4 separate regions of the Homo sapiens genome follow, and regions 1, 2 and 4 are each linked to region 3. Evidence: promoter capture Hi-C in 16 types of primary human blood cells and fetal thymus (Javierre and others, 2016). All regions are on one chromosome and are shown on one strand. Each heading gives the region's core, a stretch centred on a gene start or on the middle of the fragment in contact. The rest is flanking DNA. Distances are from core to core; before and after follow the strand shown. Region 1 has its middle 120 kb from the start of ESM1. Region 2 has its middle 95 kb from the start of ESM1. Region 3 holds the start of CDC20B (cell division cycle 20B). Region 4 has its middle 80 kb from the start of ESM1.

What was found. Contacts are between HindIII fragments. The CHiCAGO score rates a contact against its expected background, and 5 or more counts as called.
Region 1: a contact is called between a fragment that was not itself captured here and the fragment with the promoter of CDC20B in region 3, in 2 of 17 cell types (total CD8 T cells and naive CD4 T cells). The highest score is 5.8, in total CD8 T cells.
Region 2: a contact is called between a fragment that was not itself captured here and the fragment with the promoter of CDC20B in region 3, in 3 of 17 cell types (total CD8 T cells, naive CD4 T cells and activated CD4 T cells). The highest score is 5.9, in total CD8 T cells.
Region 4: a fragment that was not itself captured here is called in contact with the fragment with the promoter of CDC20B in region 3 in 13 of 17 cell types (total CD8 T cells, naive CD4 T cells, total CD4 T cells and 10 more); the score reaches 22.6 in total CD8 T cells.

What each region holds. Positions count from the first base shown.
Region 1 is chr5:54,866,897-54,873,622 of GRCh38, forward strand. It overlaps the pseudogene CSPG4BP. Among named protein-coding and RNA genes, the nearest start is that of ESM1, 120 kb to the right of the region's middle. The HindIII fragment of the contact is 2,048 bases long and covers 4,279-6,326 here.
Region 2 is chr5:54,887,116-54,893,178 of GRCh38, forward strand. No RefSeq gene overlaps it. Among named protein-coding and RNA genes, the nearest start is that of ESM1, 95 kb to the right of the region's middle. The HindIII fragment of the contact is 3,525 bases long and covers 899-4,423 here.
Region 3 is chr5:55,169,695-55,176,116 of GRCh38, forward strand. CDC20B (cell division cycle 20B) reads right to left here and starts at 3,483. Exons shown (of 12, transcript NM_001170402.1): 1 at 3,244-3,483; 2 at 2,894-2,956. The coding sequence starts at 3,306. It overlaps MIR449C (microRNA 449c), which reads right to left and starts at 2,659; the gene lies at 2,568-2,659. It overlaps MIR449A (microRNA 449a), which reads right to left and starts at 928; the gene lies at 838-928. It overlaps MIR449B (microRNA 449b), which reads right to left and starts at 1,048; the gene lies at 952-1,048. RefSeq lists silencers at 3,207-3,501, 3,589-3,918. The HindIII fragment of the contact is 4,347 bases long and covers 1-3,690 here.
Region 4 is chr5:54,902,136-54,908,883 of GRCh38, forward strand. No RefSeq gene overlaps it. Among named protein-coding and RNA genes, the nearest start is that of ESM1, 80 kb to the right of the region's middle. The HindIII fragment of the contact is 640 bases long and covers 4,918-5,557 here.

The sequences.
Region 1 (6,726 bases), core at 4,053-6,552, 300 kb before region 3:
TCCACATCCGGTTGTGTGAAAGTCAAAGGGACTTTTCATCTGCACCCAAGCTGCCTTCTTCTGGTATAAATTTTTGGAGGTATCCATGCATTGGTGGAGTTCCGACTATGAACACTGCCTCTGAAGGAATATTATCTTCATGCCCAGCCTTGAGTTCACACACACCATATATAGACACAAAAAGAAAAACATTAATAAATGTAGAAGTGAAGACTGTTGAAAACCACATTGTCTTATATTAACATCCACAATTGGCTTAAGTTGTACTTAGGGTTGATACACAGTTTAAGCCTGAGTCTGTTTTGGTGCCCATGCCAATATTTTTAATATTGGCCCTGGTCACAAAAAAAAGTAATGGTCAGCAACACCTAAGTAGCTACTAATGTATTAACCAAGTGTCATTCACAGCAGCAAAAAAACCCAGGACTCCAAGGTTGAGGTGAAAGAAATAAAATGGTAGTGTAAGGAGAAGGAATACAAGATGGTAGAAGACGCAGCAGTTGGGTCAGTAAACTTGTAAGACCTTGAGAGGAAAGTTATCATCCCCCATTTGAACTCGCTCAGCACTTTCAATACGTATTTTTTTATTCCGGGAACTCCATCTCAAATCTGATTATAACTGATGTATAGTCATTGGACTGCATATGCCCCCTTGTGGTGAAACTTAAATATAAGCTCTTGAAAAAGAACAAAAAAGCTGGTTCTTATTCCAAACTCACTATTCAAAGTCTTATTCAAAAGTATTTAACCCATTCTGATTTGAATTCATTTTTACTTAATTTTATTGGCTGCATCTAGCAAAAAAGCAAACTTGTTTGCAGTCCCGAGGGTAGATTCAGAATAGCCTGCATTTGTGGCCAGTTGTTATAAATCGCAGCTTACACATCCCACACCCTACACAGCATTACCCTAAAAAAGAACACCCCTTCCAAACTCTGATCAGCATGGCTGTGCCTGCTGGAAGTTTCCAGTACGAGGCCCAGAAAACCAGGTGATTTTTGGTCTCACCTCTGACATTCCACTGGTCTAGGCTAGTTTTAACCATCACTTTCAGGATACTAAACAAGGCCACATTCAGACCTAAACAAACTATATAATATAGTATTTGCTGGTATCTTAGGAATGTTTCTTACATTTGTTAAATTACTCCAAGTTTTTATACTGTGCTTCATTCAGCACATCATAAATATAACTCAGATCAAATGAAATATTGGCAGTGTTGCTATGGATAATGAATAAAAGATCTCTTAATTTACCATAATATATACCTCTCTCCCTTAGTCCAAGTTTTTACTGTACTAAACATATATATGATGCACATGTATGCACATGTGAGCCCAACTTTAAAATAAGCCTGAGCATTGCTTACATTCCATTTCCAACTGTAGGAAAATTGGTAGCATCAAAATCATGAAACTTTCCAAGTTTTCTTCTCAATGGCATCTATATTTTTAAAAATTCACTCCTGATACCAGGGGAGAAATCAACACAAAAATAGCTTTCAGAAGCAAACAGATTATTAGCACCTGTAAGAATGAGAATTCTTAGTGCTGTGGATAGGATAATTACCTACCTGGAGCCTTCCTGTATTCAGTTTTACTGGTTTTCTTTCTTCAACTACTAGAGTCTCGATGTGCAGAACCTGCGTGTGATGTGGGTGACCTTCCAAGCACACTTGAACATAGACACCCACTCTCACCTCTAAGTATGTGGCTTTAACTTTCACTCTCAGGTTGAATACATCAAAGTCATCACTGCCATCGTGCCTATAAATCACACATCAACAAGTCATCCTGAGAAAATGAGTGGGAAACAGAATGATTGACCAGGATCCTGCCATGCTTTAGGCCCTGCACAATGTGGAATTCAATCTTGTGGTCTGTTCTGACATTTTGGTTTGTGGTGACACTTAGGTTGGCCACTGTGAGGCTGCCATCCTTTCCTCTCTGTATGAGCAGCCCCGTGTTGTTGGCTATCTGGACATAAGGGTCTGACACACTGGCCTTGAGAAGAGATGATGTGTAGTGGACACCATCTGTCACAAACAGCACGAAGCGATCCAAGTCTGCACCCTGATGCCTGAAAAGCACGTGCCCTTCCTGCAGGTCTTCTTGCCTGAACTGGTAGAGTTTCTGAGTGGGGTCTCTGGCTCACACTAAATCCCCATTTGGGATGCCCCGCTGGGTGTACAGCAACTGCCCATTATCAAAATCTAAGTCAGGGTTATGGTAACAGAGATCTGCCAGGGTCAATAAGCGCTGGCCATTCCGCACAACATGAAAGACCTTATCTATCATGCGTACTGGTTTCTCATCATTCTTTAACCCAACGGAAAGTGTGACTTTTATTTCCATAGATGAATGCTGTGAGTCAAGATCCCTGACTGCTCCCCCCTGGTCCTTTGGTGAAGGCCACAAAAAAGAACTCATCAGACTCAGTCTCAGAGTCATCATGAACATAGATCACCTGTTCACTCACTCTCTCTTGATTTGTGAACATAGTGATATTGTCATTACTTTCCAGAGAATCAGACAAGTTAAGCAGTTTCAGCTTCCCATGTTGAGGGCCCTTGGAGATTTTATATTGGAAGATCTGATTGTCCAAAATTTGAACAAATAGTTCTGATTTTGTAATTAATTTTCCTTCTCCTTCTTTTACAAATAATCCTCTGTTAGTTAAAATAAAGTATGTCTTATCTGCTTTAAAGTTGATTCTGAAAGTATAATCTTTTGAGTCTATGTATTTTGCAACAACCAAAAACCTAAAAGTATCCTGTGAGTCTTCCCTTGGCCTCTCCTGAGGTTCATAACTTATCTTAGAGTCTGTAATATTTTTTTGGCTGAAAATTGAGTTTGTTTTTAGAACTTTATTGCCAAGTACCAATTTTCCTTTCTTAGATGGGATCAATAACTTAAAATGTAGTTCCCTCTCAGCTACTTCCACACCCTCTGTTGCAGCCTGCAAATGATCAGAATTCAATATGTTCTTGTTTAGTTGACTCATCTCTAGAGGAACATTTTTCAGGATAAACTTCAGCCATTGTGTTGTAACTGGAAATATCAGCTCTTCACTGACTTTTCCTTCTATGTTAACTTTACATTTAAAATGATCTGTAACATTTTCTAGCTGCAATTCTTTCAATGTACTATAGTACTGGACCCGACTCCAATCAACAGAACACTGAGAAAAGGTACTAACTTGTTTCCATTTCCCACTTGACCCTCACCGCTGAATCTGGCCATACTGAGGTGGATGAGTGATGTCAGAGCGGGTCTCCATCTCATGCCATTCACCATTAACCTCCACTGACAAGTTACTCCATGTAATCAGAGGAGTGCCACCCTGTTCTACAACCACACCAGTTCTAACGGCCACTGCAAAGTCCCAAGAAACAGCCATGTTCCACACCACTGCTGTATTACTAACCAGCTCTCCATCACTTGCTCTCAGAACAATCTGAGAGTTTCGATGACCCCTGTGCACATAGAAAATGTTGCCATCTCTTAAATCTTCATGTGTAAAATGATTAATGGCATTCCCGGGATCACTTGCATTTTCTAAAACCCCAGCATCTGAATTGAAGTTGCCAAGAACTGAAATACAAAGACTCAAAGAATCTGTGTCAGGGTCTGACATGTCTATCATACTTGGGGTCAGTTGTTTCTTAGAGTTCTCAAATAGAAGAAGCAAGTTTCCTTCTGGTACCTTAAGGTATGGGGGATCATTGACTGGAATGACAATAATGTTAAACACATGTGGAACACGTTCTTGCAGATATAATGGCATTTCTTTCTTGCTATTGGGAGAAACCAAAAATGTAAAATAATCCATAGGTTCTTCTGAACCATCATGGACATATCAAACTTTTCCTTGCCATAAGTCTAACATGGTAAAAGCTGTCTCCATTACTTGCTCAGGTGGTACATTTAATTGAAGGAACCCATGAATAGGCCTTCCCTCTATTTTAAATAGTATTTGAGAATGATGGATACCCAAATCCTTAAATTTCACATCCAGTTTCATGTGCCTTTGTTTCAGTAAGGTCCACCTTCTTGGACCTGCAAGTTATTCAAAACCAAGAAATCGCTACTCTCATCTTGAAGAAAAGGCTTGATGACCTCAGGGACGGCAGTGGAAAGGAAAACTTCTGACTGATGCAGATTTTCTATCGCTGTTATGGAAGGATTTGTGTTATCAACACTCTCAGTTTTACAACAACAGGAATATCTTTGAAAACAAGGGCATCCCTTAACGCTCTCTTTTCTGAATTGGCTTCCAAGCTTCTTAAGCACCCTTTGAAAGAGGTTCCTCGAGCAAATTTCCCAGGCACAGAGGCAAGTTCTAACCTCTTTACTTCTTCCCACATTTGGTTATCAAGACCTCCCACAAAAAGGGCTCCTTCAGATACAAATGTTTGCTTTGCAAAGGCAGTGACTTCCTTACCTTTTTTTCATCTACTGTTAGGTCCAGATACTCCCCTGTGAATTTGAATTGAATAACATGCCACTTGTTGTCACTGACAAAACTAAAAGAAGAAAGCTGAGTTTTACTTTTATGCCTTCCTACATAAGCCTTCAATAGACTTTCATCTATTTACAAAGCAACAAAATCTCCTTCCTTACCCAACTGAAATGAAAGCAAGGCTTGCTGAGTTACAGTTTGCAAAGTAAATTCCAATAGTGTTTACCCTTGCACTTTCCATTCTGGAAAACTGACAGAGAATCTGGAGCTAAAGAAATTGATGGCTTCATCCTCCCCTGCAAAAAAAACTCGTCATTGCATCCTAGTGACACCTCATAAACCTTCTTAAAACCAGGGTAAGATCTAAGGGACGTAAGGATCTCCCTCTGGTTAAATACCACATCCTTCATACATCCTCAAAAATTGGGGAGCTTTCCGTACAGATAAGGTACATTGAGTGCCCTGCGGCCTCCTACATAGATTCCATGTTGAAAATTCAAATTATGCATCCCACCAGCTGCCATTTGGCCAGTTGTCTCATAACGTTTGTCAATAACAAAGGAAATATTATGCTTAACATAGCACAGTTCCACCAAATGCCAAACCAGGTCATCCATATGAAGTCTCTGCTCAGAAAGGAGCATTTGTTCACTTGTACCCAAATTTACTCTCACCTGAAAAAGAATCATAATTAATCAATCTCATCTCACTTTTCATTTCATAATGTTTTATTGAGAAAATCGGACCTTTCACAAAAGAAAAAGAAGAGAGAAATTTGCACATGAAAACTCTTCCCATGCTTATAGATTACATACTAAACTCAGGAAATTTTAAAGTTGGAATATTTAAGCCATGCTAGTAAAACCGAAGGAGATCCCAACCTATACAAATGGCACATCATTTTATTCTAATGAAATAACAGCAATCAATACATGTAGCTGTTTTGTTCTCTTTCTCTCTCAACTGCTTTTCTCTCCAGTAATTATATGCTTATATGTATTTTCAAGATTTAAAATCATACACATAAGGTTCCTGATTTAAGTTCTATTATACAATAGTCATTTGTCCCAGCTGCAAGCAAAAGTAATCCCTGTGGTTTGCTGGTATGAAATTTTAATTGAAGAGATAGCTCAGAGGAAACTTCTATGATGTTGAACTCCACATAGCTTTCACCATAAAAAGATGCTAAGAGGAAAATAACAAAAGAAATATATTAGTAAATTTATTATGCAATGACTATTCCACCTTATATTATCATCTCTTTTCAGGGACTGATCCTGGTGAAGAAAGTTGCCTTTCCCAAGGCCTTATCTGCTTCCTGGGGTGACCCAGAGATATGACATGGGTGTATAAAAGGCTCAGTGTTCTCTCACCCCAACTCTGGAAAGCTCTGAACGGTCATTCCCTCTTCACAACTCTCAAGAGAGGTAGCTGAGGTTTCAACTGAGATGAAATTACAATTCAACTCCTCCATCTACCCCAGAATGCTTCTTTCCCCTCCATAGGAGTTGATCCTATGAGCTCTCTCTAATAAACCTCCTGCATGCTAAGTTCCATTTCAGATTCTGCCTCCCCAGAAGCCCAACCTGTGACAATTGGTACTGGAAGTGGTCTGAAAAAGCAGATGATAAGATGAGATTTGCAGCTGGACCAACCACTACTCAAATGGTAATTAGGACACTGTCACTGGTGGTAGGTGAACCACAGAGAGCCCTGGCAATGACTGCAAACTTCACTGGTGGTGAGCTGGCTTGGTGTAAGAGCATAAAGGAATACGTTAGGCCTGGCTATGAAATGCTGAGCTCTTAAAAACAGGGCAAATAAAAAGTAACTATGAAGACAATGGAATTGGGTGCCTATTGCCAAGCTTGAATGAAGCTTTGGAAAAGATAAGGAAAAGCTGGGAAAGATTAGTTGACAATTACAAACTAAGTGTGAAAGCCAGAAGGCCTTCCTGTTAGCAAAGTCCTTCTCATCTTCTATAGCAGGAGGGCAAAAGAAGCTGAGACTCAGACCCAGGAGGTCATCATCAGAGTAGTCAAGCTCCAAGTAAAGTTTTGGGGAATCTAGCCTGCAATATCTGCCTCCCCTCTTTGCTCCTCTGTGCATTTCTTTATCCTAGAACCTGCCAAGTTGTGTTAACATTTCTTATTTATGCATCTATCTCCTGCATTATTCTGTAAGTTTTCTAAGATCGGGGACCATACCTTTTGTATCTCATCTCTTCAGTACCTAGCACAGTGCCTGGCACACGGGTGGTGTCAT
Region 2 (6,063 bases), core at 1,411-3,910, 280 kb before region 3:
TGGCAGGCTCAAGTATCCATATAAATGTAAAAGCACAGGCAGCATAGAACAAGATTACCCAGAGAGGCCCAAGCTCTCACCAATGTCTCCCAGAGGGGCATCTATTCAAATATTGGTTATCTCTGGCTAAGAACACAAGCTCAGGGGTTTGAAAGACCTGGGTGCAAATTCTGCCTTGGATACTAGTAAGTGACATTGGTATGTGACCTTGGCCAAATCACTTAAATGTTCCAACTCTCCCCTCGTTTGTAAAATGCAGATAATCATTCTGATTCCATAGGTGTGTTGCGCAGGTTAGTGAACTCATGAGGATTGAGTATTAAACAGTACCTGGCTCATGGTAAGAATTCTGGGCACTATAATTATACCTGGGGGCCCAGTTGGGCCTGCAGGCCTTCTCTACCAGCCTCTGAGTAGCCCTGACTCGATCCCAAGCCTCAGACACACACTCTTGAGAATGAGCCATCTCTCATCTTTCCTGCAGCATGGAGGACTGTTTCATTTTTTTTCTGTGTACTTAGCCATGTATACTGCTAAAGACTACTTATGTTCTCCATGTTAGTAATCTCCAGCATCCTCCAGCTGTCCACAGCAGTGTGGATTTTCTAGGGGCTGAAGAACACAGGACCAGATGGGTAGGATTTATAGCTCTGGTCCTAGATGTGGGACAAGGCACGTATCCTGCACCAGCCTCAGCTTCCTCCCTTATGAAATGAGAGGGATGGACTAAATGATCCATAAATTCCCTTCAGGCTCAACATTTTATGATTCTAACTGGTTATCATTAGCATCAGATGGCTCCCTCATTTAAATAGAGCTCTTTAAATGGGCACACAAGGAAACTTGTAAAGTTTGGATTTCTTTACACAAACCAAGGTAGTGATTGCCAATAACTTGAAGCTTTTAATTTAGAAACATCTTTCAAAATGTCAAAAAGAGATAACTATGAATTTGCTCCCCGTAGGGCACCACTTGCTCCTCTTGTTTGAATTAGTTCTAAATTACCACTTAAATGCTTCAAAGATTGAATGTGATCTCCATCCAATTTCCATGGCAGCTAAGATGGATCTAGAATACCGGGAAGTTAAGATGCTCAGTTAGGGAAAACCCATGTATGTGGTGACTCTAAGGATGTTTCTTTGTAGTGTCTGGTCAGGAAATCCACCCAAATAAGGGCCACACTCTAACCTAGTCATTTTGACTGGCACTCTCCTGCTATACCCCAGCAACAGGAATTATCCTATTCAGATATTGGCCTGAACATGGTTCACTCAGAAATGAAGGTATAGAGAGCATAAAACAAATATAGGGATGTGCCATTCATTGATTCAACAAATATTCACTGAACTCTTTCAAATGCAAAAGGCACATGAAAGATGCCCTGGTGCATGCAGAGATCAGTTACAGACTCTGCTTTCTAGGAAGCTGCAACATAGAGAGAGACATAAGACATGTACAGCAGTAATTTTAATAAAAGTGAATTGGAAGTTGGGTCATGCCTCTGGGCCCAAAAGTCTCCTTTCTGGAACTGTCCAGCCCATACACCATTGTTGATGTGACCAGCTTGAGCAGCTGTGTCAGATTTGCATGGCCCCTCACCCTCTGACCCCACACAGTTGGACCAGGTGAATTCCTCATCTAAAGGGCATGACCCTGGGAAACAAGAATGTCAAAGCTGATTCCTTCTCAAAACTTTCAACCAAGAAGCATAAAGAATGCAATGATCTGGTGGCAGTCACAGAACCAGTAAGTCATGTGCAGGTGGTACCTTCATAAAAATCCAGCAGAGATCCAAATTCCATTCAAGCTATGGAGGAACAGGGACTACAAGTCAGCAGAAGGAGCCACTTGCCTCTGTCTTGGTCTTTGCAGAGAGGAGATTGGTACCATGTTCCAGAGAAAAGCTGATCGTAAGGGACAATCAAGCCACAGAAAATCGTTGCCTGGTGGCTTTCCCATTCTTATGAAGTCCAGATGTACTTCCTGAATTTTATGTCCATGAGATTCTTCTGAGTTCTTTCAGTAAATCCATACTTTCCTAGAGCTAGTCTATAACTCTAGCTTCACAGATTCCGGTGTGCACAAATTATGACTTTCAGTATTTTTCTAAAATCAACTTGATTTCTGTTTTGACCTTCCAATCTGTTGCAGATGCAAAACTACAACTCAGCCAGTTGAAGGATTCTTTCCTGCATCCCCTGCCCCAAGTTGTTTTGCAGTTTCCTGGAACTTATGTAGTGCTAAGACATCAAGATGACTGAAGAAGGGGTGTGGCAGTTGTCTGTTACAAGACACTCTCACCGTTGTGCAGGCCCCCCTGAGACATTCTTCACCCCACGTGGTCTTCAGGTGTCAGTCCATGCAGGCTCCATGGAGACCGCCTCCTTCCCAGCTGAATGGTCCCATCAGGTCAGCAACCTTTTCCATTTCTCTCAAGCTACTCTGAACGCTCTTGGGCCACCCCTAGTGCAGGAGCTCTGTGAGGCTGGGTAAGGCCTTGACTACTAATACTCACCACACAGACATTTTCTGTCTGGAAATCTTACTGTCTTTTGGGGTCCATTCATCTAGCTGTGGGATTGGGCTCCTTCCATGGGGCTCTGACTTTCTGTAAGGCCCACCAATGTCATCGCACTGACCATTTTGCCTTGACTGTTCTGTCCTCTAACCCAGGAAATCCTTTTCCTCTTGGCTTGCTGGGTAGTGAGAAGGAGGAAACACTGCATAAACCAAGATGGAGTTTTAGCCACTCAGCAGAATAAAGTGTAAAATCATAAGTTTGATTACTAAAACATAAATGTATCATTTGCACAGAATTGAGATGTAGACAAGAAGACTTGTATTTGCCATGTTAAGATGCCTACCCAGGAATGCTAAGAATTCTTATGGAACCTACCCTACTCCCAGACTGGTTAACAAATAGTTGAATTTGAGCCAATTTCTTTGAGGCAATGGCTGTGACCTCAGTGAGCACTGATGTGTGAAAATGAGTTAGACGCTCAGAAGTCACTGCTGGTTTCAGAAAAAAAAGTCTTTGAAAGAGTACCTCAGGATGCTTTCTGTCTCCCAGGAAGTCAACAGAAGGAAGGAAGAATGGGCAAATGAAAACTTCTGAGTTTTCTGCAGAGATTAAATTATCTAATTTCTGGGAAGCTGCCTCAGGAAAGACAGGGATCTCTTGAGGACCTCTGTCAAGGATTCTAATTTTTCAAAAACCACAACCTTTTTCCAAGGAGAGTGGAGCAATTCTAGGTGAACTGGCTGCCTCCAGCAACCGAGAAGTCGCTTGTTACTCTGCAGAACCCACACAGCCCCTTAATGTGACATTAACTCAGTGACCTAGAGCACGTGCAGAAAAGGTCTATATCCTGGCTAGAAGGAAAACTCTGCCTAGCCCCAAGGGGAATATTTCAAGGTAGCTGGTCTGAGTAGAAAAGGGGAAATGTTCTCCAAGTAGAAAAGTGCAAATGGATTCTGCTCTTCCTTGATTTATGGGAAGATAAACACTTTATGGGAGATTCTACCCACAAAGAGACCCAGAACTAATAACTTGGAAACTGAGGTATATTTGGTACCAGGAAGGGCAGCTTGGGAAACCAGAAGAGAACTAGATTGGGGCCAGGCTGACTCTGCAGGAGCCTAACTCATTCAGCTCCCTTGTCCCCCTCTGAGCCCAGAGAGACCCCAAGGCCCAAGTTAAAATAGTACCACCAGAAGGAGGAGAATTATGCATCTAAAAAGCAGTTGGGGTAACAGCTCCATTATTTAGGAAGGCAGCTTTTCACGGAGGCTTTATAACCCCTCACTCTGTGAGTGGTCAGAGGTTCAAATCCCAGCTTCACCACTCAGCAAGCCAAGTTACTTAGCCTTTGTGCCTCAGTTTTGCCATCTGAGATATGGACATAGTGTAGTACCTACCTCCATTGGGATTTTGTAAGGTTAAATGAGGTCATTCACAAAATATGCTTGAGACATAATGGTAGGCAGCATTTTGACTGTTAACCACTCCTGTTGCTTTTAAGCAAAATGAGATATCTCTTCCTTGAAGAATACTGTTCAAAGACATGGAAACACCAAGGAGAAAAAGGGTGTGGGGAGATGCAGGGATTTGTTTCATTTATAAAATATTACTCCACCATAGTAGTTTGCTTGCAAGGAACAGAACCCCACTGAAAGAGCCTTAACTGCAAAGGAAAGCCACATATGATAAACAGGAGGAGAGCAGGAGCCTTTTTGGGTATGTGAGTTGGATTTTAAAGAGTGGGTCAATGGAGATGTTGTACAAGGCCTAGAAAGCAGGAGCACATGAGGGCCTGGTGCTTCCAGCCTGTTCTTTCCTCCTTAGGAGACAGCTTCTGTCCGAGGGCTAACAGGAGAAGGAAGAGTAGCATCTCAGGATATCAGGAGTTTGTGCAATTTCTCAAGCTTGCTCAGTTTCTCCCCATCACATACACACGTGTGTTCTTCCTCACTGGCAACACCCTCATCATGTGGATAGTGCTCCACCCCTTCTTGATCTTCCAAGGGTCGTAGGGATTGTGAGGGGCAATTTCCATACAATGAATTAAACTGGGGACCAACTGAGGATTTGATTCAACATCTCGTTGAGGATTGCCAGCAAATGCAAAGTCCTCACTTGACAGCAACAGAATAAATAGCACACTTGGCCCTAGAGCACAGGCACAGGATGGGTTCTTTCTGATGGAGACTGGGCAGTCTGTGGACTGAGGCTCACAAAGAGGCAGGTTCTCCATCCTTGGCCAGACCCAGCCACCTGGCATCTTTGGTAAATTCCTCAGAGTCAACTCAGGGAAAGCTCATAACCCCCATTCGTTTATTCTCTTCTTTTCCCCCCCAACCATGCCTAGTCATTTTTTCTCCCTAGCCCTGGAAAATAATCTCTTTTGACATGGGGAAGAACCTACTCTCTCCCTCTGCTTTTGGCTGTGTTTTTGTTCTTGGCTCATAGAGGGTTGCAGCCCAGGAGAAAGTTGAAAGAGCCCCTGAGCTATTGTAGCTTTTATGTTACAAAAACCTAAACGCTTATGGGTATGAGATTCATAGGCACAAAGATTACTTGTTTGAATTATAAGTGAAAGGGTGCTCACAAAAGGAAAAACTAAACTAATATGTCAAACTATGATTCCAGCCACTTCTGGTTACAGTATAATATTGTGGGTAAGGCTGGTAGGCCTATCTTTCTGCCAATTTTAGAATTCAGAGCCCAGATCAAAGATTTGGCATTTAGAAACATCCTGAACATTTGCTTTCAGCTTATCCAGGGGCTGGTTCATGAAGCCTAAAGTCACCAGAAGGGTGGTGTATAGTCAGAGAGAGAGAGAAGAAGTACTAGGACAGTGCTGGGTCTCTGAAGTTAAAAGAGTAGAGAGCTTCAAGGACTGACTGTGGTCCCAGAGATAAACCTGGGAAGAGCCCATTGGGTGGTCTCTGATAACACCTTGAAAACTATTTCTGATAATGGGTATCCCAACAGAAAAAGAGGAAGTCAAACTACCCCTGTTTATAGATGACGTGATTCTATATCTAGAACACCCCATAGCCATGGCCCAAAAGCTCCTTCAGCTGATAAACAACTTCAGCAAAGTTTCAGAACACAAAATCAACATACAAAAATCATTCCAGCATTCCTATACACCAACAATAGCCACGCCAAGAGCCAAACTAGGAACGCAATCCCATTCACAATCACCACAAAAAGAATCAAATACCTAGGGATACAGCTAACCAGGGAGGTGAAAGATCTCTACAATGAGAAGTACAAAACACTGCTCAAATAAATCAGAGATGACACAAACAAACAGACAAATATTCCATGGTCATGGATAGGAAAAATCAATATCATTAAAATGGCCATACTGCCCAAAGCAGTTTATAGATTCAATGTTATTCCTATCAAACTACCAACAACATTCTTCACAAAACTAGAAAACACTATTTTAAATTTCATATAGAACCAAAAAAGAGCCTGAATAGCCAAGGCAATTCTAAGCAAAAAGAACAAAGATAGAGCCATCATGCTACCCAACTTCAAACTATGCCTCA
Region 3 (6,422 bases), core at 2,233-4,732:
TGATATTTCAAGTGAAAAATGTTTTAGTTGACTGACTCATCTGGAAAATTACCTCAACTTTCCCTTCAGTTGGTACACACACAGTCATGGCTATAGAAACCAATTCTAATGCTGTATTTAGAAACTAATGATGCAGAGGCCGGGCGCAGTGGCTCACGCCTGTAATCCCAGCACTTTGGGAGGCCGAGGCGGGTGGATCACGAGGTCAGGAGATCGAGACCATCCCAGCTAACACGGTGAAACCCCGTCTCTACTAAAAATACAAAAAAATTAGCCGGGCATGGTAGCAGGCGCCTGTAGTCCCAGCTACTCCAGAGGCTGAGGCAGGAGAATGGCGTGAACCCGGGAGGCGGAGCTTGCAGTGAGCCGAGATCGCGCCACTGTACTCCAGCCTGGGCGACAAAGCGAGACTCCGTCTCAAAAAAAAAAAAGAAAGAAACTAATAATGCAGAAAGAATCCTAAAGACTTCACTGAAAATCTGGGGACACATTGTAGGTCCATTCCACATTGTTATTACATTCTAAACCTTATAGTTAAAAACATGTAATTTCATAAATACTTAAACACTGTCTACTCCGAAAGACTCCAAAGACTCCAAAAATATTTCTTAAAAATTTTTAGTTATGGAAAAGCAGGCATAAGTAAATTTTTCTTAAAAGGAAAAAATTTAAGTAATTGTAATACTTTCCTTACCATTATAAAACTGTGCATTGTAAGTATTACTGTATTATAAGCTAATGGCAATAATATATTATGGTAAATAGTGGCTTGCTTCATAGCAGAAAGTACACATAAACACACACTAATTACAGATTCAGTTACACTCTGATGTTCATTGTATATGCAATAAGACAGCAGTTGCATGTTAGCCGATGCCATTCACATATTCAACCAGCTAACAATACACTGCCAGCTCATCACACACAGGTATCCAGAGCACTTCATTGACAAGAAGAATTTATCCAGAAGCAAGTGGCAGGGTAGTTGTGGCTGCTGACTTGACCCAAGCAGCCAGCTAACAATACACTGCCTACCTGATTCAGGTCACTGCCGATTCTCGTGGCCCAGGCAGTCACTGAGGCTAAATTTGTAACATGAAACATAGTGGCAGAACTCTAATCTTAATAGTCACATTAAAGAAAACTTATACACAAAATGTATTACTTCAAGACTATAAGAAATAAAATCAATATTTGCTTGAATCTAGTCAAAAACATAAAAGTTAAACAAAAACTTTAAAACTTTCAGAATACTTACATTTAGGTTTTCCAAATTAAATGCTTGGATAAAAATATGTTCTACAGTACAAATGAATTTTAAAAGTTACTTAACTGTAGGCTGGGCGCAGTGGCTTATGCCTGTAATGCCAGCACTTTGGGAGGCCAAGGTTGGCTGATCCCCTAAGGTCACAAGTTCAAGACCAGCCTGGCCAACATGGTGAAACCCCGTCTCTATTAAAAATACAAAAATTAGCCCAGCGTGGTGGTGCTGCCTGTAATCCCAGCTACTCAGGAGGCTGAGACATGAGAATCACTTGAACCCGGGAGCTGGAGTTTGCAGTGAGCCGAGATTGCACCACTGCACTCCAACCTGGGCAACAAAGTGAGACTCTGTCTCAAAAAAATAAATAAAAAGTTACTTAACTATAGCTTTTCAAATCACTTCTGTTTACTGATCCAAAGACTACTTGTCTGTATTAGACAGTAAAATATCTAGGAGTCGTGATAATACATAAGCTGTGCACGACACAAAACTGCAGCAGTGTTTGGGGGAAAAAATCAACATTAAAGTATTTAAGAAATGTAAGGGCTTAAATGCAATTAGTTTTCTCCTACTAGAAATGACATTAGTAATCGAGTTCTGAAAATGCAATTATGTATTCAATATAGGATGTTACCACTTGAATACTGAATTTTTTTTTTTAAGAGGCAGGGTCTGGCTCTGTCCTCCAGGCTGGAGTGCAGTTGTGCAATCATAGCTCACTGCAGCCTTGAACGCCTGGGCTCAAGCAATCCTCCTGCCTCAGGCTCCCAAGTAGCTGGGACTACAGGCACATGTCATCATGCCCAGCTAATTTTTGCAGTTTTTTTATAAAGACAAGGTCTCCCTGTGTTGTCCAGGCTGGTCTTGAAGTCTTGGCCTCAAGTGATCCTCCTGCCTCAGCATCCCAAAGTGCCGGGATTACAGGCATGAGCCACAGTGCCTAGTTGCAAAATTTATATAAGATCTAGAAAAATCTATTAAAATGGTGGTGGATTTGGAACTAGAATCTCTGCGTACAGGTCAAAGGAAGATGAACTATTGAGCCTAGAGAGAAGCATGGTAAATGGTGACAGAGATTTAAAGCAGATGAAGGCTCTTTATGAAACACGTTTATAAAACCATTTAAATTTGTTTCCTTTTACACTGATTACAGGAGACACTAAAGACCTTTGGGTTTGGTCTTTCAAGGAGAACAGGTACTACATTGGATCAACTTTAAATTGCTCACGTTAAGAACCATGGTTTATGCCACTTCTCCACATTGTCCACAAGATGGCACCATTTCCATTTCTTTGGGGGGCGTGCTTCTGAATGCAACAGAGAGGAGTGCAACTAGCAACTGTTAAAATCATTAACAGCCGCTAGCAATACACTGCCTACCTGACACATCCCAGCTTTATCCTTTGCTGTGGAGGCAGAAACTAGAAAGTACGATTCAGATGCAAACGATTGCATTATTTGTCTGGGATCTTCAGTTTCATAAAGAAATTTTTTTTAGTATGTAATAAGATACTAAAATTCTCATATTTTCAGACCAGCTCAAACTTCCTACAAATACATTATTTACCAAGAATTCGTTTGTTCAAGATCAGAATTAAAACAGAGAACAAGAACAAGCCCTGGACTCACGTTGGCGGAATCTTGACTTCTCTTCTGCTTCAAGTCTTTGGAGAGCACACGCATGATACTTTCCTTTGAAAACACAGATAACATATTGAGGGAGAAACTATTTAGGAAAATCATAATTTCAGGTGTGGAATTTTTCTAGATCTTGTGCTTGTCAGATTACACTTTTTTTTTTTTTTTTTTTTTTTTTTGGCAACTAGGCACCTTCAGAATATAACTAAATTACATCACTCAAATTTACGACCAGGGCTTAGAGTTTCGTACCACCTCTTGGTCCTAAACAGATATTATGAACGGGGCCTTCGGCCCCGCATTAGAGAGTTAGGGAGAATGCAGAAAAGGGTGTTACTCACCCACAGCATCTCCTCTTCCGTGCGGACCCTCCGAGGCGCGGTGCGCTCCAGTTTCCACTCCATCTCCGGCTGACTTCGCCCTGCCTGGCGTTTGGCCTCTCTGCTCGACTGCCTCTGGTTTTCTTCCCAGGTCTAAGTCAGTCTTGACGCCTAATCGTCAAACCCCTGGAGTCCCGTCCCCCAGGACCATTCTATTTCACCACCTCCCTCCAGGTCCCCCACTCCTCCCACCGCCGCTGCAAGGTGTTCCCCAGGGTACCATTTAAAAAGCCGGCGGGGCGGCAGTCGGCGCGGGAATCCCCCTCGCCGGCTTCTTATTGGCCGGCGCCGCGGTGTCGTCAGAGCCCGGGTGGGATTCCCCGGCGCGCGCCGCGGCCCCGCCCCTGCCGGCCCTCTCTGGGCCCCGCCCCGCCACCGCCTCCGGCCGAGGCGCGCACCCGGGCGCCAAGCTTTGCCGCGAGCCGTGGCGGGCCTGCGGCTGGGCCTGGCGCCGGGGGCTGCCACCGCGGCAGGAGGCGGAGGGGTTGGCGGGCGAAGAAGCGGGTTCTGGGAGTTCACGATCTTTCCATTTTCAGAAACAAGAATGTTTCCTTATAACGGCCCTGATCCCTGTTCCTCTGCACCCACTTCTCTTTCTCCAACCACACCCTGCCTTTGCAGGATCCGAGCGTGCACAGCTCTCCGGCCTCTGTCCGTTGGTAATCGCTGTGTCAGCTATAGATGTGAGGCGTGTTCGTCAGCTCTTCGTTTTCAGAAGGCAAGAAAACGTGGCAAGATTTCTATGCCGATCAAAAGGGAGAGCGTTGACATATTTATGCAATAAATTATTCCCTGCTCTATACATTGGGAGTAGTCAGGTCCTCTCACTCGGGCTTCTGAGCCCTGTTCCTTAGCAGGGGGTAGGTGAGAGAGGTGAAGAGGTAGTGAAAGAACCAGTGACAGGCAGGACCTCATAAGGCGTGAAGAGGGGGCCAGAAAGCTGAGCACACTGGGGACTCCGTGATAAAGGGGGAGAGGAAGATATTGAGGGTTGAGGAAGAGGTCTGGCGGGAAATGACAGGGAACCAGATGGGCTGTGCAGCCTTAGCTGCCCATCTGAGCTGCCAAGAGAGCCGAGTTGTGCCATATGGCAGGAGGGGACACTGCATCTGGGAAGCCTCTGACAGCCTGGCAGCCTGTTTGTCCCTCCCTTGCTAACCCCCCAACCATTTTTGACATTGGATTGTATTTTGCTCTAAGGCAATGTGAGTTTGTGTGTTTTTCTGGGGAAACAGTTCATAGATAGCAGATACTCAAAAGGGTCAGTGATCCAAAAAAAAAAAAAAAAAAAAACCTAAAACTCACTCCCCTGCTTTCCTTCATACTGAAAGCAAGAAAAAATGGCATTAGAACTAAGACCCAATCTTAGACCAGTTTTCTATGTACAATAATAATGCTGCATAGGGTAACTTAATCTTCAAATGACATATATCAAAATGTTTGATAGTCAAATAACTAGTGGATTAAAAGATCTCTAAGTTTCACCCACAAGAAGTCTATTTTCCTTGCAGTGGAGTACTCATTCCAAATTCCAGTAAATCTTTCAGCAAACATTAAGACTAAATAAAAGTAAACTATTATTGGATGAGAGTCAGATGCATTGTTAATTTAAATGATCAGTTTTGCAAATGCCAACTAAAACTCAAAGTATATTGGAAATAATATGAAGGACATATTATCTTTGTTCTATTTTTAAATATAGTTTACATTTAACCATTTTGTATAAACACAGAATAAAAGCAATTCAACTAATAAGCTCATAAATCCATGTAAATTGGGATTTTTAGAATCCAATTTCTTACAAGTACTAAGAATAGTGAATCATTCATTTAGAATGCAATTATCTGTAAAAATACATTTATAAATTCCATTATAGCCATTAATTCCACAGCATACATATACACAGCCTCCAAATGTCTTTTTTTCCCCTAGTGTGAAGTAGAGAAAGTATTAGTCAAATATCTTTAGGAAGTAATTATGCAGTTGAATATTCAGATTAAAACTTAACTTCAGAATGATGGAAACAGAAACTCGCCACTTGGCAAATATTACAGTAATAACTGTCAAGAATACTAAAATTACCTTGCATATGATGAGAATACTTCCCCCTATAATTAAACACAAAAAATAAAATCACAACTTTTCACTGGCCAAAACTGGCAGAGACCACCTTAACCAAGTGATCAAAGTTAACATCACCATTAGTGAGACATGTTGACATACTGTGCCTCATGAGAAGGACACATCACTTCTGTGATATTTTTGCCCCACAAAATGCATAACCTTAATAGTGAGAAAATACTAGACAAACCCAAATTAAAAGACTTTCCACAAAATTGGCCAGTACTTTTCAAAAGTATCATAGTCATCAATAAAGAAAGAGTAAGAAACTGTCACAGATTAAAAGAAACAAGACATGCCAACCAAATGCATTGCGAGGTCCTGGATTGAATCCTGGACCACAAAAAAGAAGATATTGGTTAGATAACTGTAGAAATTTGAATTGATCCATATCTGCAGATTAGTTAATAGAGTAGTAGTAATGCTGATTTCCTAGTTATGATTATTGTACTATAGCTATATAAAATGTTAAGATTTGTGAACGCTGAGTGAAGGATATAATGGAATTATTTGTACCATTTTTGTAACTTTTTTCTAAGCCTGAAATTATTTCAAAATGAAAAATATTTAACATCATGTGGTCATTCTATTAAAAAGCACTTTGGTAAGACTGTTTGGGGAAAACAGAAACATCCTGTAAACATATTATCTTAATTTTTATCAAATATGGTTTAGGAACAATGTCCAATTCAAATATTTATGCGCCTAAGAGTAGCTTTACTATCTTTCAAATGTTTCCTCTTTGAGAATGGGTTTTGCAGGGAGGATGTGACAATGAGAAAGGCTGTGAGGAAGACTCCTGGACAAAGGCCAATAAGAAGGATTTTGAGGAAAGAAAGGCGACAGGAGCGAGGGGAGGTGGACTAGTGGAGGAAGGGAGAGAAAGAATTTGGAAAAGCTTCCCTTAACTCTCAAAGTCGCCGGTGCTCTGAGAATCTCAGTAGGTCCCTATCAATGGGAAGCAAGAGGATATTCAAGCTTCCCAAATGCGATCTCTTTTTTTTTTCAATTACACTTTC
Region 4 (6,748 bases), core at 3,988-6,487, 270 kb before region 3:
TGAATGTTCGTGAAAGGACAGTGAGTCCTGTACTAAGCTTCCATGAATTTCAGCACTTAAAATTATTTCTGACATCCCTTCTGCTAACTTACTAATGCTCTCAGGCTTTATTTCAGTAAGTGCCAAGAAATTCGCTTTTGAGGTTTAAGTTTCTGTTTAGGATTCTGCATAGCTAATTAATAACCTCATGATTTCAAAGACTATTAATCACCTCTAAAATGATGGATTTAACTTGTACACAAAAATTATATAGTTTATACAAATTACGTTATTTGTTATTGTTGCTTTATTATATATATTAAAGTGTATAACATGGTGTTTTGATATACTTATCTTGATACACGTATGCATAGTGAAGTGATTCCTACAATCAAATGAGGTAACATGCCCATCATCTTTGTTACCTTTCTTTTTCTTTTTTGTTTGTGATAAGTACCTAAAATCTGCTATCTATCTTAAACACATTATTTTAAAGTAAATTAACCTACAGGCCGTAGAACATTGAATGTCTGCTGTTAAAATAGGAATAAACACTAATGTTTCTCACTTCTGGGTAGCCCTCATCTTCCTTCCAAAATAAAGCAATTGGCATTCTCTCTTTCTCTCCCCCTCTCTCTGGCACGCGTACACATGCACACACACAGATTTTCAACACACTTCTCTGCTTGAATTGGAAGAGACTGGGAAAATTAGACAACAGCTGTGTACTTCCAAGAAGTCTCCTATTTCTCTGGCTCAGCACAACTTGTGATTTAGTTCATTTGCTCACTGTGCAGCATTTCTCAGAAACCACAAAGAACATGAATGCAGGTGGCATGACTGGAAGGCTCAGAAAGTGCTCTGTGGTCTCTGTATGAGTTTGAGGTTTCAGATTCTACAGATGGCACATGTGAAACTGACACTTCACTGCACTGCATCTCTGGCTCTGTAATTGAGGGGCAGCTGCTTCCTGGTAATGCAATAAAACCCAAGGGCCCAAAAGAAAGGCTTAGAATACTCCTCTCCCCTGCCCTCAACTCCCAAGTGCCTTTCCACCAAACTGCTGTGTGGGAAAGTCACCTCTCCAGCCTTGTCACTCCCGTACACCTTATACTCTTCTCAACTTTCATTACACCCTGCGGGGTGACCTGGTGATTTGAGTGCCTGTATCTTTATTAGTCATAAAATTATGTCTAATATTCTAGATGGCCCCATGGCACCTTGCATAGTTTAGGTTCTTCACAAATATTTGTTTCCATTTTACCTATAGCTCATTCATTCATTCATTTATTCAATGATTTTTGGACTCAGGGTAGAATATTCAAAGGTATATTCAAGGGGGGAGGATTTCAAGGTGGATTCATTTTTTAGCATTAAGTTCTGCTTAATGGTGGTTTTGTTTCAAGTATCCAGATGCAGCATTAGAGGTTAGAGACTAAAGACAAGGATAACTTTATGGGAAGTTGGTCAAGCTCAAAGCTATCATACCTCTTTCCAAACATGTCTCTTGGATAGATAAGAAAAATACTAATGGTAATGACAGCAACAAAAACAGGACGATTAGCATTTCAGGAGTGTTTACTTTTTTCAGGCACTGCTGTAAGTGCTTTACTCGCTCCACACAGTTGCTTTATGAGGGAAACACTATTAATGTCCTCCATTTTACAGATAACATGGTGCCTGGCATCCTGCTGCTAGAGATTAGTATTTAGCAAGTTTAGACAATACCCTCTGTCAGGCCATTCCCTCCTTTTAAATGTGCACATCCCTCAGCATGATGATCCCCTGCAGTAGTCCAGGTGACAAACACGCCTTAGTGTAAAGCAGTTTACAAAATGCCTCACTTCCTGGTAATCTGCACTCTTGGAGGATTTGGAGGAGGAGCTCTGAAAAGAGGGGATGGAATGGCTGCAGAGAGAGAAGGTGGGATGGACACCTATATCATATTGGATAGACTTGATCAAAGCCACCTAGGCTGGGAATCCTGTAGCTGGGGTTTAACTGGAAAATGAATAGAGACTTGGCCAAAGCAATTTTTGTTTCTTTCTAATGCTGTGTCCATTGACTCCAGGCCAAACAAGAATCTTTTGGGAAAGGGCGTTTGAGCCATAGAACAATGGACTGACTGATGTCAATCAAGGTCAGTTTTGCCTTCCAGGGACATTTGGCACTATCTGGAGATATTTTTCATAGTCATCACTGGGTGGTCAGGTGTTACTGGCATCTAGTGGTTAGGGGTCAGATAGGCTGCTAAACATCCTACAGTGCACAGGACAGCCCCCTTATCATGAAGATTATCTGGGCCAAAATATCAATAGTACTGAAGTTGAGAAACTCTGCAACACATTAAAAAGGTGCATCTGTACCATTGGAATTTGAGTCTGGGCTTCTGAGCAGTGATGACTGCAGAGGGGCACCCTCCAGTGGCCAGTATGAATCATGAGCCTAAATCCCAAAGAGTGACTCCAGTTCTCTATCCTTTCCCTGGTTATTTGCTCAGCCTTCCATGGAAGAGCTAGCAGGGATGTCCTGTCCTTTCTGTCCCCTCCTCCCAGGCACACACATTTATGAAAGTATGGCGCACGAGCCTTCACCCTTCATGATGAAACTCCTCCAATCTTCCAGTGGATTTTCACTTTATGCAATTAATCTTATGTGAACAAAAAATAAAAAATAAAAAAAAAGGAGAAGGTACACAGTTCCCTTCCCTGAAGAGGGAACATGAGAATCAGGGAACTCTTTATCTTTCACACCGACTAAACACACCTGAATTTGTGTTTTCTCTTTGTTGACTCTTTTGGCTTCTTTTCATCTGCATTCAATGTGGTCACCTGTAAGGCCATAGCCAGCAAAGTGGTATCTTCATTGCTCTCCCGGGAATGTTAATGAGCTTAGCAACAACAAAATCCTTCTGATTTACTAAACCAGTGCACCTCCTGACTTGTGCATAAACCTCCATGACATTGCATTGAAATTGATGCTCCATTATCAAAGCAATGATAATTTGAAAGGTTTCTTTCTCATTTCTGTAGTTTTTAAGCTCTTAGATAATTGCTTTGACTCTTCTGTGGGATCTGTATAAAATGCCAAAGTTAGTGAGAAGGTGTAAGCGTGAGAGTCACTCCAGGTCCCTCCCGTGACTGACATTGTCAGAAGCAATTTGCCCTCCCAGACTTCAGATGGTGTCTGCATGTACCAAGCCAGGTGTGTGCTGACTTTTAATCAGGCCACTCAGCCTAGTTGACTGAGGGAGATGCAGATCCTCCCAGCCTCTCAGGGAGGATTCTTTGACCAAGTGACTAATAAAACACCCATGCAACAGATGTTGGACTACCCACAGCCTGTGGCTCTCCTACCTCTCACATAGGCCACCTCACTCCTACTGAACTGGGGAATGTGAGGAGGTCTCATGAATGGTTTGCCAGCCTGTGGGAAGCTCTGAATCCATCCACTAGAACACTTCAAAGATTTTGTGTTCAAAGTCACCCTGGAAAAACAATCACCAAAGTGGTTCATTCATCCCACCAGTAACTTGATCACTGATGCTTCAGAGGAAACCAAAGAATTCAGCACTATTTACTACCTTGTGAAGTATAAATCACTGCGCCTTCTTAAAACTGTATGTGTAGGAAAACGAAGGCCAGAACATGCTTAGTTTCAAAGCATTTTTTTACCTAGTTTCTCAAGCCCCCTCCCTTGTTCAAACATCAACTCAGCAGGAATGACTGATTCTAAGAGTGCACCCACCCTTCCCATGAGAACGTTCTGAGAAATCATCCACCGGCCGTGCCATGTAGCATCACCGCATGCCTCTAAGTTTCCTTCTCATGGCAGCAGGAGGCAAGAAACATCTTGAACCTTCAGGGATTGAAGACTAATAAGGAGGAATTTGCATTGTCATCTTTAAAAATAATAAACCTAACTGATTGCTTTAATGTTTCAAAAAAAAATTTATCCTGCTTCTAAGAAACAAAACTTCTGAAAAGACTGCCATGAGATTGAAAATCTTGCAATGGAATGTGCCGCTTGAGGGCGCCATTAGGCTTTGAGAAAATAACTGTCTGCTACTTTAAGTGCTGTCTTTGGAGCCAGCCCTGTGTCCAGCAAGCTCTATGAAATAAAACTGAATTTAGATCTCACTTCTAGGAAAATGAAGGGAAACAGGAATCTAGTCTCTTTAAACTCAAGTGACATTAACCAAAATTCGGTTGACAAGTTCTAAATTCCCTTGTACAAAGCTGTCTTTACCAGCCAAATGAAATAAAAAGTGATACTGTGCTAAAAGATGCCCTGTGTATTTTTGTAGGATTGACAGTTGCTTAAGATCAACATTCCAATGTGAAATGAGAAAAATAGTGGGAATAAATTGCATAACAGAAATCTCCTGATTTAAAACTGGAAACCTAAGCTGTTTGGGTTCCATGGGGAAAACTGCTTTACTTGGGTGTTTGACACTCCCAGAGAAGGAAAAGCTGATATGTAACTCGGCTTTTTTATCAGGCTTTGTTTGTCCAACACAGGTCCTACTTTCAACAAAGCGTAGTAGAAAATGACACAGAGGGTTGAAATTCCCAAGTATTGCAGAAGGAGGTTTGTGGAAGATCACAAATCAATTTGTAATTCAATAGAGTATTTAACAAAGCTAAACCTTCAGTACAGAATTTGCTGAATGAGACAGTCAATGAGAAAATAGACTACAACAGAGAGTTGAAGATAACAGACTACCAGGAGCGTCCAATCTTTTGGCTTCCCTGGGCCACATTGGAAGAAGAAGGGTTGTCTTGGGCCACACATAAAATACACTAACACTAACAATACCTGACAAGCTAAAAAAATAATAATAAGAGAAAGAAAGTCTCATAATGTTTAAGAAAGTTTACAAGTTTGTACTGGGCCAATTTCAAAGCTGTCCTGGGCTGCATGTGGGCGGGTTGGACAAGCTTAGACTACAGCATCATTGATCCAAATTGGAATTTCTTCTCTCTGCCTTCCACCTATCTCAATCTATCCAATCTTCAGTACACAGTGTGAGTTTCACGGTTCCCATAGAAACTCCTTTTATTCTTCCAAATATATTGTTCTAATTGTTTTATATGACTCTAGTCTCTCCCATTCAACTTAAAAGACACTTAAAAGCAGGAGACAAATATTATATCTTTCTTATCTTCTATTGCCCAGTCCATGGACCTATCAGGTATATAATAAATACTTTCAGATTTACTAATTAATCTAAAAAGATATAAGAAGAGAAAAAAAATTTTTTTTCCTACCATTTGCTTATCTTTAAGAGAAGATTAGATGATTTCTATTAGTAAAAATGCTTAAGGATGTCAAAAACTCAAAAAGAGATGTGGGTTAAAATTTACTAACATACATGCATCACATTCCTTGTATCAAGGCATTTTTTATGGTAAATTACCATGCAGACAATACAATAATGTAAGACCTGTGTTTTAGGCAAATGAACCTAGTGGCACTGTGAAAGGTAGATCAGAAGGGGGAGACAGTGACATCTAATATTAGTTACTGTTCGTCAAATGCCAAGTCTGTGCAAGCCACTTTATATTTATAGTCGTTAAGCTTCGGAAAACTTGCTTGGAGAAAAGTAAGCAACCCACTCAAAGGCCTGAAGGGAATGAATGACAGAACTGAGAGTCAAGCCCTGATGTAAGTGAATCCAGAGATGTGGTCCTTGCACTACAGTGAGTTCTGTCTTCCGGGAAAATGGCTGCAGGTCTGTTAAGCTGCAGACCAAGGAAGCACTCAGCCAGAGCTGGGATGCAATAGCAACCTGACAGGGCTCGGGCCCTCTTCCAGGTCAGCATTTGCGGGTGGTGTGAGCACCAGCCCCTTCTGTGGTGTGATCAGGGAAATGGGGGCCATGCCTTGAGGTGGCTGCTTGGTGACCAGCTTGGTGCTTGCCTCTCTCACTATGGTCTCATCTCATTATTAGCTAACTGCCTAGGGGACTGGGGTTGTATTTGACTCCTTGCACTTCCAGCAGTGCCTTGCATATAACAGCTACTCGGGATTTGTGGAATTGAGTCTTGAGGAGCGAGATAAGGGAAGTCTAACTACAGTTATGGCAGTAGAATTAGAAAGGAATTAGAAAAGATTAGATTCAAATGGCGACGAGGAAATAATCTTTAGAAATGTATCAACTATTCTATATGGAGAGTAAGGAAGACTCATAGGATTCTAAAGAGCTATATCCAGAAAAAAATAAGAAGAGAGCTGGTTAGGGTGGGTGTAGTGTTAGAGGGTGCTAGTTTGGGGCATGATAAAGTTGGAGCTCTGCGAAGCCATTCAGGTGGAGTGGTCCAGTAGTGGTTTAACACCATCAGGCTGGCCCTTGGGAGAGTGATCAACTGGAAATATTGATTTGGGAAGTTGTCCTACCCATCCTGTTTGCTGTGCCTTAAAAATAATCCAGAATCTGACTATTAACCCTGCTACCCTGGTCCAAGCCACCACTGTGTATTGTCCTGATTATGGTAGATGCCTCTTAACTGGTTTGGCTGTTTCTGTTTTTGCAACACCACCCTCTCCTCCAAGTCTATTCTCAACACAGCAGGTAACATGATCTTTTTAAACATAATTCAGATCTCTCTTCAGCTAAAACCCTGCCATCCACCGTCCCCACCCAAACCCCCCACCAAACACACACTCAGAGAAAAAGTCCTGATGAAGACTTGAACAGCCCATCCAGTGGGCACTGGCACAACCTCTGTAACACACTCCTAATTTTCAGAACTCTTCTTCCACCACT